Regions from separate parts of the Homo sapiens genome. Here region 1 is linked to region 2. Evidence: promoter capture Hi-C in human tissues and cell types (Jung and others, 2019). All regions are on one chromosome and are shown on one strand. Each heading gives the region's core, a stretch centred on a gene start or on the middle of the fragment in contact. The rest is flanking DNA. Distances are from core to core; before and after follow the strand shown. Region 1 overlaps LOC105373907 (a long non-coding RNA gene). Region 2 holds the start of SGPP2 (sphingosine-1-phosphate phosphatase 2).

Region 1 (7,214 bases), core at 2,565-5,064, 1.1 Mb after region 2:
CCCAAATTCCTAATTTGGGTGGTTTCCGTTTTTAATGCAACTTATCTCTAGGAGAATCATTCACATCTATTCAGAACGTACTTTACCTGTTCAGTTTGTTTAAATGAAGCCGTTTGGAGAGTTTGGATTGTTAAGGAATATGAACTACAAGTTTATAACGTGGGAAATTTTAGGTGAAAATTATGAGAGAACATCTCAGTGAAGCAATTTGGATAGTATGTCACTTATCTCCTGCTGCTTAAAAAAAAACCTCCCCAAAACTTACAAGCATGAAGCAACAACCATTAGCCCAGCTTATACATCTTTTGGGTGACAAAGTAGATTGGGCTCAGCTGGGTGATTCTTCTGATCTGGGCTAGTTTGGGGCATTCTTGGCTGCCTTAGGTCACATTTCTGGAGGCTTGGCTGGAACAATTCGGCTGACTTCTCCATATGAGCTCTTATCATACAGCAGGCTGGCCTGAGTTTGTTCAAATGATGCATACAGGGAGCCAAGAGCAAGTAGAGGCCTGCAAAATATTTTCGGTTCTAGGATGGGCACTGGAATGCTTCCACAGCATTTCTTGGATCAAAGCAAGTCACAAGACCAGTGCAGACTCCGGGACTGGAAAAATAGACTCCAACACTTGATGGGAGGAGCTGCAAAGTCATGTCACAAATGATGAGGAGAGAGCCAAAGGAAGGATTAGTGGTCCAAATGTGCAATCTACCACGGGTAGCCAACATCATTCCTATGTTAGCAAGAAGAAGGCTGAAGAAGGCCCCATCAAAATCAGAGAGAATCAAAGTTCATTTTGCAAATTGGCTGGGACCCTCATAGCCTTAAAATGGATGAAGCTGGAAACCATCATTCTAAGCAAACTATCACAAAGACAGAAAACCAAACACCACATGTTCTCACTCATAGGTGGGAGTTGAACAATGACAACACATGGACACAGGGCGGGGAACATCATACACAGGGGCCGGTCGGGGGGTGGCGGACTGGGGGAGGGATAGCATTAGGAGAAATACCTAGTATAAATGACGAGTTGATGGGTGCAGCAAACCAACATGGCACATGTATACCTATGTAACAAACCTGCATGTTGTGCACATGTACCCTAGAACTTAAAGTATAATAAAAATAAATAAATAAATAAAAATTAAAATATATATATAATTTCTATTTTTCTGGCATCTTATTTCATTCTGTTGTCTAATGTGAAGCAAGATTTCATGTAAATGGAATTGCTGGCCAGACCAAAACATTCATGTGTGTGTGGTTCATGCTAATTCAACCCATATGACTGGAAAATCTGAGAGATCCTTAATTTTCCTACTATTAGGTGAAAATTAACAATTCTTTAAGAATATAGATAATAAATTATTTGCATATCATTGCTCTTGCTTTAGTTTTGTCAAGTGTGACAGACAACTTTTCATAAAGTACTTCCCCACATTGGAGAGGGTGGAGAGGAGGACAGCTTCAGTAATTCAGTGCATTAATCCAATAACATAGTATCATTAACTAAGGTAAAAACACCTTTTCAATGGATACCTCTGGAACTCTCCCTTTTGGTGTTATGTAATTGTATTGTAAATTTAACTAAGATTTATTTTTAGAACGTCAGCGTTTTAGCAACCACATCTATCAGTCCACCAACTACAAAGTCAAGACTCTTTTTGAAAAAGGCCTCATGAATACAAGTTAAGACAGTAGCTAATGCTTTTAACTAAACAGCATAAATACATAATGCAAACAAAGACAATTCTTCAAGATGCACATAGAGGGAAAATATAACCTTCAAGGTTTAGAAAATGTCGGGTGCTTTAAAATTAAATGGTATGAGAAATATAAAAAGCTAGAGGTAGTCCAGAAAAATAGGAGAAATAAACAACATTTGTTAAAGTAATTAGAGATGATAGTATTAATTAAAGTAATTACAGATGATAGTATTAATTAAAGTAATTAGAGAAGATACTATTAATCTTGCAGTCTCCTCTGGCATAATAAATGTGGATTACATTCTCTTTGTCTCTTCAGACCAAAACTATATAGAGGAGAAAGTAGGACAACTTTAGAAGTTTATGAGATGACATGAAAATGAGACATGAAAACAATCCAGGTAGGTAACTTAACATCTTGAAGTGTTAGAGCTGAAAAGATTAATAGAGATTAGATTACATAATCCCTCATTTTAAAGCTGAAGAAACTGAGTTGTTTGCCCAAGTTCGCACAGCTAACAGGTAACTAATCTACTCCCCAATAACTGATTTTACTATACTTGCCTTAGGGCCTGATCACAATTGCTTAGTAAGTTCCCAGTCATGCTCATCCAGTTTTTATGACCTTATTTTAACATATGTGAAATATTTTTAAATTAATTTCTGAATATTTTAGCATGCTGGAGAATGAGGGGCTCATAGCTAGGATCAAAGACTTCATTGAAAGATATGGTTTGGATGTGTGTTCCCTCCAAGTCTCATATTGAAATTTTTACCCCCGTGTTGGAGTAGGGCAATAGTGGAAGGTGGGGGTGATGGAGGCAGATCCCTCATGCTATTCTCACAGCAATGAGTGAATTCTCACTCTATTAGTTCGTGTGAGAGCTGGTTGTTTAAAGAGCGTGGCGCCTTCTCCTCTTGCTCCTTCTCTCACCATCTTCCCCCTTTACCTTCCACCATGATTGGAAGCTTCCTGAGGCCTCACTGGAAGCTGAGCAGATGCTGGTGCCATGCTTGTACAGTCTGCAGAACCATGAGCCAACTACCCAGTCTCAGGTATTTTTCTATAGCAACACAAAATGGATTAACACATTGAACTTCTGACTTAAATCTCAACTCACCTAATCACTGGGTTTTTGCAGATGAGATATGGGTAAGTTGGGTTTCTGAAAAATGTAGGAAGGGCTTCCACTTCTATAAACATGTTCAGCTACGTCTCTCTTCTCACCGAAGGTCCAGCACTGCTTCAAACTGGATAAATAAGCTACGATTTCAGGCAATCACGTGAGTAGAGGAACATTGAGCTCTTCATTTCTTTAGAGCATAAACAGGCATCAAAAGAGGTTTTTTTTAGAATCGCTTGAGTTGTTGATACTCTGAGGACAAAGTGTTGCCCACTAGAAGGAAGGACCATGGGGAAAAGCAGACCTAATTATATGAGACATCTCCAACCTTGGCAGCCCCCATGGCATAAGTACTTCACTCTCATAACCCGCATAAGTACAGTTGTTCTCTGTAGTAAATATGTGATGTAAATTTGTGGAAATAGGAAAGGATGGGAGAAAGAAAGGATTCAAAAAGGAAGAGGGAAGGGGAGAAAAATAAAAAGAAAGTATCATTTAACAAGAACTTTTGAGTGTTCGTGGGTGGGCAGAGAGGAAGACCTGAGAATTAATGGAGAGAAAAAAGATGTGGCTACAGATGTAGGAGGTGAGAGGATTCTAGAATGAAGATTAATGTGATAAAGAGGACATTACATAATACGTTGGTGGGTTATAAATTAGTCCTCTTTGTCATTATTTTTAAAAAATAAGTAAATAATGCAATTATTTTTATGACTATTGCTTGCCTGATAGTACTTCTTTGTATCCCACAAGGCCTTGACTTTTATGGGATGACATCACCTGTTGCTTTCTGAGTTTTCATCAATTTCTAGAGCTGCATTTTCTTCCACAAAACCTCTTGTTCTTAGTAATGGCTGCTCACTCTACCTCTGGCCCTGCCTATAACTCTGTTGGCTCATGCTGCCAGATACCTCTCTGTTGCTGTGGAGAACTGAGGAGTAACAACATGATAGTACAGCTTAAAATAAATACTATCATAGAGAAAAATAAAATAAAATATAAGGATCAGGGGAGAAAATACATTTGTAGAAACAAAGAAAATGAGAAGACTATGAAGTGTTGCTACAATTAAAATGTTGATTCTAAATCTGTTTGAACTTCAGTTTCTCTTCTTTTTTTCTGAGTGATCAGATGGCTCATATTCTGAATGTGTTAGCTTAGGCATTCAGCTTAGAATACACGTTGATTAATTCTGAATTATTCAGCGTTAATCAGGTATTGCTTCAAGTTTTCTTCTTTGTGCTTCATGTCTCCAAAGTCAGAAAGTTGAGCTTAAATACTTCTGAATAAAGTAATTCCTAAATGAAATGTGAGTGTGGCTCTACCAAACAGGAGGGGTGTTAGCTATGCAAGGCTGGGCTGCCAAAGGGCAGTTTGGAAAGAAAAGGAAGCAATTTCTCAAAAGATGGATGGAATTGATATCAGGATATAATCCTGTCTATTTAAAATGGTTGTATACCTATGTAACAAACCTGCACGTTGTGCACATGTACCCTAGAACTTAAAGTATTATATATATATAAAATGGTTTAGATGACACGGTGCTTAAAGGCAGCATTGCTGATGGGCTCTGGGACCAATACGGTGTTTCCGAGAGCTGCAGAGAGCTATGGGACTCTGAGTATTATGATATCCAAGCCTTGGGATAATGTTCAGGAAAAAATGCACAGGGGAAACTGATAATGTTTGCTATTAATGATGGGGATTGGGAAAATACCTAATGCAGTGAAAAAAAAAAAAGTGTGATTTAGGTATGGGTGGCCCTATGCCCAATCCTGATTCTACCTTTTACCAGCCATGTGGCTTATTCCATCTGAATAACTAAGCTTTGGTTTTTTATATTCAATTTGGCACCTAGTGGATATCCAAATACTGATAACTATTAATATGACTTTAAACATAGGCTTCAGTGCATAGAGCAATGGTTTGAAGTCACATGGTTCTCCCACACTTCTTTGGGGTTGGCCTTTAATGCATGAATGAGCTCACCTGATTGGAAGGGGACACAGTATCCTGCATAAAAACAGGAATTTCATCTCCAACTCCTTCTAACTCAAACTATCCTGTGCCATAAAGGTTAGAGATGTGGTATTGGTGACTCAAAGATACCATGGCAACATGGAGGAGTCCTAGGGAGGAAGGCTTAGCCTCAGAGCTTAGATGTGGAGACAGGCCTGAGATCCAACCCTTTTACTTTGTCCCTGCACCAGTGAAAACGGTAGCGAGCTGGGTCAGGAGAAGCCAGTGCTGGTAATTGTGCAGCCTATGAAGAAAGTCAGTTTTATTCTAAGTATTCATGCTCTTATCAGATTCTAAAGTTGACAGAATTGGCACGAAATAAGATCTGCATGTTTATGTCTGAGAATGTTTCTTCTGGACCTCTAAACCCATAAAGTCTCTAAAGATCAGATTTGACTTTAACTTTTTTTTTCATTTTGGCCATGCAGTTTATCCAGTGGAATGTGGTAAAATATGAACTAAATTTCATGGGCCAAAATAAATCTCTTTGTTAAAGTTGTGCCATTTCTAACCTATTCTTTCCAAATGACTTTTTTTTTGTTACTTCTTAGTATTTCTTGGTTGACCAATTTATACTTGTCATCTTAATCAAATTTGATTTATTTGGTTATATTTTTAAAGAGCAGTGTACTCTTTCCATCACTTCTCCTTCCCCAGAAATATTTTTTAAATGTTTTTCTAAAAAACAAAACAAAAAAATCTTTACTTTTTACTCCATCCATTGGTTCACTCCCTGGGCACCGCTTGTCCAGCCTCCTATTTATTTCTTAACATCTCCCTACCTATCCCCCCAATTTTTCCTAAAAATGCTTTCTTTGGGAAAGGAGCATCATCTGCTCATCAGCTATATAAACTGAAAGGCTCGAGTTTCTTCTACTCTACCTTTGCCTTCCTCCTCCACAACCAGAGGTCACTAAGATCTGTCCATTTTACTTGCTGAATGTCCTTTTTTAAAATAATGGCATTATAGATACATAATTCATATACCACAAAAATCACCCTTTTAAAATGTAGTCAAGTGGCTCTTATTATATTCACAGAGTTGTGAAACCATCACCACTCTCTATTTCCAGAACATTTTCTTCATTACCCCAAAAACAAATCCTGTACCCATTAACAGTCAGTCCCTGTACCTCTCCCAAGTGCCTATCAATTGACTTTTTGTCTCCAGGATTTGGCTATTCTGAATAATTCATATAAATGAAATCATACAATGTGTGGTCTGTTGTGACTGGCTTCTCTCACTTAGCATAATGTTTTCAAGGTTCATCCACATAATAACATGTATCAGCTCTTTATCCCTTTTTATGGCTGATAATATTCCACTATAAGGAGGATATACCATATTGTGTTTATCCTTCCAATGGACATTTAGGTTGTTTCCACTTTGGGCTATTATGAATACTGCTGTTATAAACGTTCATATGCATGTTTTTGTATGGATGTGTTTTCAATTCTATTGGGTAGATACTTAAGGAGTCAGATTTCTGGATCACAGGGTACTCCAAGTTTAATATTTGAGAAACTGCCAAACAGTTTTCCAAAGTTGCCGTGCCATTTTACAACCCCACCGGAAGTGTATGAAGGTTTGACTTGATGAATATTGAAATTTCTGCACCTTCCCCTCCATCACACTATCAATGCCTTATTCGGGTCCTCATCACGTCTAACCTGAAATATGACCATCAACTGATTGACCTAGCCATTGCTGCCCAGGCTTCCTGATCCATCTTCCCCACTTCCACCAGGGAGCACAAACCTGACCAAATCACTTCATGTTAAAGATCACAGATATTTCACATGGCCAAAAGGACTAAACATAATCTGGTGCCAGCTGCTTAGCCTCTGCTTCCTCTCCTTACACCTCACACATCCTTTATGCTCAGCTTCTAAGACTCTTCACTTACAATGAATTTATTTGAATTTTAGGGGCAACGTGAGAATATATATTTCAGTGGAACCATGTCCTCTGCCATCCATAGCTGTCATCCAGAAAATATTTATTGAATACCCACTACTCTATTAGAAAATGATCATAACTCTCCTCCCTCTTACATTATCCATTATTTGGACCTGAGGTAAAATGTTGAATCGATCAAAAGTATTTCTCACATTTTTGGTCTTTATTTGATGGAAAATGCTCAATAAATTGGACAATTCACTGGACTTGAGCTTAAGATCTACTATTGATTGATATTATTATTTCATGTATTCAAAAAATACTTACTGAGCACTTAGTATATGCCAGATACTGTTCTAGACACCTGGGATACAAAAGAGATAAAATTTCCTGTTGTCATGAGCTTTCCTTCTAGAAGGGAAAGACAGGCAATGAACAAATAAGTAAAATACAGCATTTTAAAT
Region 2 (6,898 bases), core at 2,658-5,157:
TTGGTGAAGTAAAGGGCTGTATAATGAGCTATTCTATGAAGAGGCTGTATAATGAGCTATTCTATGAAATGGCCCATGTGTTGAAAAAGAGGGAATGGCCTGTGGCCAACAGTCTGCAGCTAATTGAATCTACCAACCATCGTCTGAGTGATCTTGGAAGCAAATCCACCTCCAGTTGAGCCTTGAGATGATGTAGCCTCAACCAGCACCTTGACTGTGACCCTGTGAGAAACCAGAGCCAGGGGACCCAGCTAAAACCACTTGGATTCCTGCTCTGCAAAAACTTTGAGATGATAAATGTTGTTGTTTTAAGCTACTATTTTTATGTGATAATTTGTTATGCAGCAATAGATAATCAATACAGAACCCAAATTCTGTATACTTGTCTTGATCCAGGAAGCATTGCCCAATTGAAAACTGAACAGTCTAGTTGTAATTTGGAAGTAACGTGCTTTGCAGAGAAATAACTCTAAATCAGAACTTAAAATGCAATAATGTAATTAATACCAAAATTTTTCATTTATAATGAAGGTATTTTGACAACACTTAAAAAATTACTTTAACTTATTAAAGGTTACCAGGTGTCCCTGCCCCCATTTTTTTTTTTTTTTGAGATAAGATCTCACTCTGTTATCCAGGCTGGAGTGCAGTGGTGTGGTCATGGCTCACTGCAGCCTCAACCTCCTGGCCTCAAGCAATCCTTCTGCCTCAGCCTCCTGAGTAGCTAGGGCTACAAGTTCATGCTACCATGCCTGACTAACTTTTACAATTTTTTTGTAGCAATGGAGTCTCCCTGTGTTGCCCAGGCTGGTCTTGAACTCCTGGCCTCAAGCAATCCTCCGCCTCAGCCTCCCAACGTGCTGGGATTACAGGCATGTATGCCTGGCCAATTGTCTTTTGGAATAACTTATTTTTAGTGTGGCTTCTTTTAAAAAATTCTATCTGCACATGAGTATTTATAACATGCCAAGTGAATGACAAGCTGCCTAGATAAAATGTGTAGATTATGGCTGAATTATAACATGGATTTTTACTGTACAACATTTTAACCAACATTAGTTTCCTAATACTGGTGGAGACTGCTGGTTGCCCACAAAAAAATTCTGTCCTCCACTTCTTCCACAGGAATATAGCTTAAGCTTGACATAAGGTTGCCCTGCTAGAGATAACATTTCCAATTGTTTCTCACTGATGGAATGTTAGTGAAAGTGATGTGTGAACTTCTGCCTCACTTGCTTAATAAGACATTGCTGCTCAGAACACTCTCTCTCTTCACCCTTTCAGGAGCTGAACTTCAGATGTTCAGCCCTAACCCAGATTCAACCATGCAAAAGAGGACGATGACCTAAGGCTCAGTTTCAGGGCATGGTGGAGCAATAAGATGAAAAGAACCAGAGTCATGGAGTAGGGCCATGGAGCAGAGCTTCCTACTAACCTCAACTGCTTGCCTTAGAACCATTCTATGAAAGAGAAATACATGTCTGTGTTCCTTAAGCCACTCTATTTTGGGGTCTCTTTGTTATAGTAGCTTAACCTTTATCCGAACTAGTATTAATATATCCATCATTGATTCCTTTTAAATATGTCATTTTGTAATTGTTACATATATACAAGTGAGCAAAGTACAAATAACTGGATTTCTGCCCTGGCAAAAAAAAAAAAAAAAAAAAAAAAAAAAGGTCGGGGGGCGGGATGTGAAATGTATTTCCCACAGGTATGACTAGTGTTCAGTGATCAAAGAACTACAGGGTGTTTCTCTGGTATCAAGAAAAAAAAATTTTTTGCATGACTGCAAGCTACTATTTGATATCTCTGCACCATTACAGCAGTCTTTCAGTCCTACCACTTCTCAAAGATGTTGATTTTTGTTAGGTTGGTTGGGAAATTCATGTTCAGAATAATCAGACTGGGCCTTAGAAAAAAAAGGTTCTGGGGAAATGGACTTTACCACTGCCCAGGAGGCTCAAGATGTCCTACTCAAGATGTTCAGAGCCAAATTCTCTTGAGGATTCCTTCCTAGATTGAATGACTCCAGCACAATACACCTTCTTATCATGATCTCACTAGGCCTTATAGAGCTTGTCTCAAGGTTATTTTTACAAGAGCCTTATAAGAAAGACAAGAAGTGAGGATTATCATTTCATTACAGGGATAAACTGCGACATATGGTGACTTACATCAGGTGACTTGGTGAGCCACTAGAAGCTGGAATCAGTAACTGATCCTCCATGGAGATAAAATGCTCTGTCTACAAATACAATTCTTTGGCAATTAACTTAATGCTGCGTGTGCCATGTTTTGCTTTGCCTATTTTTCCTAACTGGTAGAAAGAAAAATCGAAGCACTAAATTCGGGAGACACATGATGCAAGTGCCTTCACAGGAAAACATATTTCTTTAACACATAAGCAGAACAGGTCCCCAACGATCACAGCTCCAGCTTCTAAAACCAAACCACAGGGTTTTGCCTCACACCTGTAAATGACAGCCAGAAGCATTGTGGAGAGATGCTTCCACCTCCTGGGCCGGACATTTCTGTGTGTGATCCCGCCAGACATGACAATAACTCTGCGTGTCTTCTGTAAGAGGAAAATGGTTTCCCTTAAGAGCTTCAGCATTCTCTCAGTCCCCTTGACTTTGCTCTCCAGACAGGACTGAGAAGCAAGAAAAGTAGAAACTAGGGCATGAAGGGGACTACATCATCCTGGAAAGTCACATCCCAAAGACATTCAGGCCTAAAAGGACAACTGAATAAATAAGGCATTGACAGGTGTTCATTAATCATTTGTGCAACCAAATTCTTAGTAGGCTTTGCATGGACAATCAGGAAACATGCAGGTTTCTGCTGCAAACGAAAGACGGGGTTGAATTGCACTTTTGTTGCAGACTGATCACCTGGGCCTAATTTGATTGTTGCCTCCCAAGGGATCTCTGAGCCCAGGAGGGAAATGTAGGAGGGAGGAGGGAAAACCAAGGCCGGCCTGCAGGATGTTTCCTTTGCTATCTTCTGCTGAGTGCTCTAAAGCAGGTGCAGGTGCAATGAGATACCTAATCCTGTCCCCAGTCCTCCAGCACTTTGTTCTCTTCTCGTTTAAACTCCCTAAATGGTCTGGTGGGGTTTTCCCAGTGTCATTGCTTAAAGAGAGGCAGAGCGGAAAGAAAGAAGTAGGAGAAAGCGGTAAGCATCTTTGTTCTCAATGCGGAAAACCCAGAAGGGACTTTCCTTCCCACCCACCTGAAAATGTTCCCCAGTTGCCAAATCAGAAGGGCAGGGGCAGCGACGCGGAAGATGACTCAGGGCCCACTTTGAACCTCCTGGGTACTTGAGCAAGCTCAAGGGTGTTCGGACCTCTAGGGAGACGTTGCATCACGCAGTTTGGAAAGAACTTGGGAATTCTCCCTGGGGGGCTCGCTGTATTTACTGGGAACTAGTCTTGCAGGAAGGTGAGAGTACGTGGCTGGCTGTGGGGAGCTGGCGTGGGAGGAAATCCGACTTCACCTTGGGCTCAGAGTTGCAAGGAAGGTCACTGTGGGATCAGCCTGAGCCCAAAAGGATGGGCTAATGGGAGCGGCCGCAGGTGCACGCGCGCTCGGCCGCTCCCATTAGTGTTACGTCTGCCGGGGGAAGAAGGTGGGGTGGGGGGTTGGGGGCGCCGGGAGAAGAGAGGCGCAGTTCGGAGATCGGCACTCCTCCGTCCAGTTACAGGCGGTCCTGCCCCCGTGGCCGCCCGGGGCCGCCCAAGCCCTCCGGGACGGAGAGAAAGGGGGACGCGTTGCGCAAGGTGGAGGCAGACACCTGGGCGGGCGCTAGGACCCGGGCGGCGCACCTGTTGGCTGGGCCCGGGGCCCCGCCCGCCCGGCCTCCGCCCGGAGTGCGGGATCGGCGGGGGCGAGGCGGGAGTGGCGGTGCCAGCGGAGGGCACCGGCCCGGCGTGGCAGCGGCGGCGGAGCGCGGCCCCGGGCACACCATGGCCGAGCTGCTGCGGAGCCTGCAGGATTCCCAGCTCGTCGCCCGCTTCCAGCGCCGCTGCGGGCTCTTCCCCGCTCCGGATGAAGGCCCCCGGGAGAACGGCGCGGACCCCACGGAGCGCGCGGCGCGGGTCCCCGGGGTCGAGCATCTCCCCGCAGCCAACGGCAAGGGCGGCGAGGCTCCGGCCAACGGGCTGCGCAGAGCCGCGGCGCCGGAGGTAACCATGGGCAGGTGTTCGCCGGGTACGGGGAGGGGGCGGCTGCGGACGTGCGGGTCCCTGCGACTCCGCCACGCGGGGCCGGCCGGGCCGAGAGGGCGCCGTCCCCGGCAGTGACCCGGCTCCCGCCGCTGCGAGCGGACGGGGAGGCCTGGCCTTCCAGTAACCAGGATGCCACCCTCCAACGCTGCCAGGGGCAACCGGGTCTATTGAGATATCCCCAGACGCTTTCAATGCAGTCCATTTAGAGACTTCCCACTTTCAAAAGTAGTTAAATTCACGTAGATGCCAGCAAATATGTAAGAGTTACGTAATGGAACGGAGGAGCGGGGATGTCCTTGGCACTTCCCCGGGGAGACGTTCTTAGACTCCCCCCCACCCCCGTATTCTTGCATTTCCGCCCATCCCCCTTCCCTGATGCGCACAAATGCGGGTGCAGCCGGGCTCAGCGCGCTCCTCACCGCGCTGCACCGCCAGCTCTGGGCACAGAACTTGGGGCTCACACAGCTCCTAGAGAGATTTACAACCTCCCTGCACTACCCCCGGCGATGATGTCTTAACAGCAACTCTCGCTTGCCCTCCCCCAGAGTCTGGGGGTCCCTCCTGCCTGGTGGGTCTTTTATGGACCGACACCAGTGACTTCTAACAGATGCTTCTGGGAGGGAAGCTCGCTACGCTCCCGCTAGGTGTTCAAAGCGTGGTTATACAACCCACTGCGGCTTGGGGGGAACCAGCGTGCGTCGTCGTCGCAGTGCACAGGGACTTTAGGCAGCAGGGACCAGACGGGCTGCACTTGGCTTCTGGGGACGCATGTCTACCGGGAGCACTGGCAGCACCTGCCTTTTCCCTCGGCAAAGTCAAAAGTGTGGCGCAGGAGAACAGAAATAAACGTATTAATAATTCGAATTCCTTGTACACAGCCACATTTTGTTCTTCCTAGAAGGTTTTGGTGAAAGAAAGGTGGCCTTTACTTACGTGTAAATTTCTAGATGTAGTAACTGAGGAATTACGAAGAACCTGGCTTCTGTGTGGAATGGAATATTATAGGCATTGGATTACAGAATTTGTTTGGGAGGGTGAGGGTGGTTGTGTGTTCTACTCCAGAGAAATCCTCCTCTGTATTTTTTCCTCTTTATTGTTCCTTCTTTATCCCATGTGACATTCCGGTAACCTATAGATGAGTATGAGAACCCCTCTTTTTTCTCTTGCCTTGTCTTAAAAACGGGGCAGAGTAGGGGGGATAAGAAATCAGCTGGGCGTGGTGGTGCGGCCTGTAGTTCCAGCTACTCCGGAGGCTAAGACAGGAGAATAGCTTGAGGCGGAGGTTGCAGTGAGCCAAGATCACGCCACTGCACTCCAGCCAGGGCGACTGAGCGAGACTCCGTCTCAAAAAAAAAAAAAAAAAAAAAAAAAGACCAAAACAAACAAACAAACAAACAAAAAACAGTCCCATGGCTGAAACGTGCCGTGACATATTCGGTGCACACACTGTTTACACCCACAGGTAGACACGTGAGTTGCTTTCTGTTGCTCTCTTCACAAGCTTCTACCCTGTTTCTCTAATTCAGGAAGCTGAAAAAGAGTGAATTGTTCCACCAGTGCTTCTCAAACTGTTTTAAACATCACCCCTGGTAACTTAACTTTAAACTCCACAGTTGGATCCTCTTGACCTTTAAAAGCAAGCTAAGCAGATTTCTTACACAGTTTTATCTTCTTACTGCTTGACAATCCTGGTGGGTCTTCAGTGAGTGAAATTGTGGCGGTTTCCCCACACCCACCCAGCCAACACAGGACTTCTGCTTACAGATCATGTAAAAGCAAGAAAGCTGAATGCCCAAGATAAGAAATCATTGTGTTGGTATATAATGGGGGAAATCATAAACTTGAGAGTGCTTGATAAATGAAAGGTTAATTAATGTTTTTACAGGTGGGTTGGTTTCAAATGACTTGGGAAGATTAATCCTTTACATACACACATTGATTCCCCCCCTCAAAAATTATCTCTTATCTACACTCAGGCAATTTACAGGACTTTAAGGGGGCAGTTGTGAAAAGTGTGCTGCCCTCTCTGCAGGCCTTTGTACAGGCGTTGGCCTGCCTGAGCTGCCTGTCTTTTCTCTAAATATCCTCCCCACTCATCCTTCTATTTCCAAAGGTCAGTTCCTCCATGGGTGACTTCTCTGACCTTCCAGCCTAGCTCCCCCTGCTATAGTTTTTCTTTGCTTTCTGCATTTCTTCATTACAGCATTTATCACGTTGTTTAAATGTGCCTTTGTGTGGATATCTGATTATTCCCCGCCCCTCCAGAGGATGATAAACTCTAAGAATGCAGGCAACTTTTCTGTTATGGTCCTTATTTTTTTCTCATAGCCTGGCACGTAGGAGGGACTAGTGACTTTTGTGAATACATGCATGTAGATTGCAATATAAAATTATAGTTTTAAACTTTTTTTTTAAGAGACAGGGTCTTGCTGTGTCACCCAGGGTGGAGTGCAGTGGCACAATCATAAGTCACTGCATCTTCCACATCCTGGACTCCTGCAGTTCTCCTGCCTCAGCCTCCTGTGTAGCTAAGACTACGGATGCATGCCATCATCTGGTTTGTTGTTGTTGTTGTTGTTGTTATTGTTGTTTTTTGTAGAGACAGGGTCTCACTATGTTGCCAAGACTAGTCTTAAACTCTTGGCCTCAAGTGATCCTTCTGCCTCAGCC

What was found. The method cuts DNA at HindIII sites, captures the fragments that hold promoters and counts their contacts. A contact is called where the count stands out against the background at its distance.
Region 1: a fragment that was not itself captured here is called in contact with the fragment with the promoter of SGPP2 in region 2 in 1 of the 25 tissues and cell types used here (adrenal gland).

What each region holds. Positions count from the first base shown.
Region 1 is chr2:223,503,450-223,510,663 of GRCh38, forward strand. It overlaps LOC105373907 (a long non-coding RNA gene), which reads left to right. Exons shown (of 5, transcript NR_187973.1): 3 at 2,027-2,108. Among named protein-coding and RNA genes, the nearest start is that of SCG2, 95 kb to the right of the region's middle. The HindIII fragment of the contact is 5,716 bases long and covers 957-6,672 here.
Region 2 is chr2:222,420,636-222,427,533 of GRCh38, forward strand. SGPP2 (sphingosine-1-phosphate phosphatase 2) reads left to right here and starts at 3,908. Exons shown (of 5, transcript NM_152386.4): 1 at 3,908-4,186. The coding sequence starts at 3,968. RefSeq lists enhancers at 3,152-3,451, 4,642-4,791, 4,842-4,901 and silencers at 3,612-3,961, 4,052-4,281, 4,292-4,341. The HindIII fragment of the contact is 9,125 bases long and covers 1-6,898 here.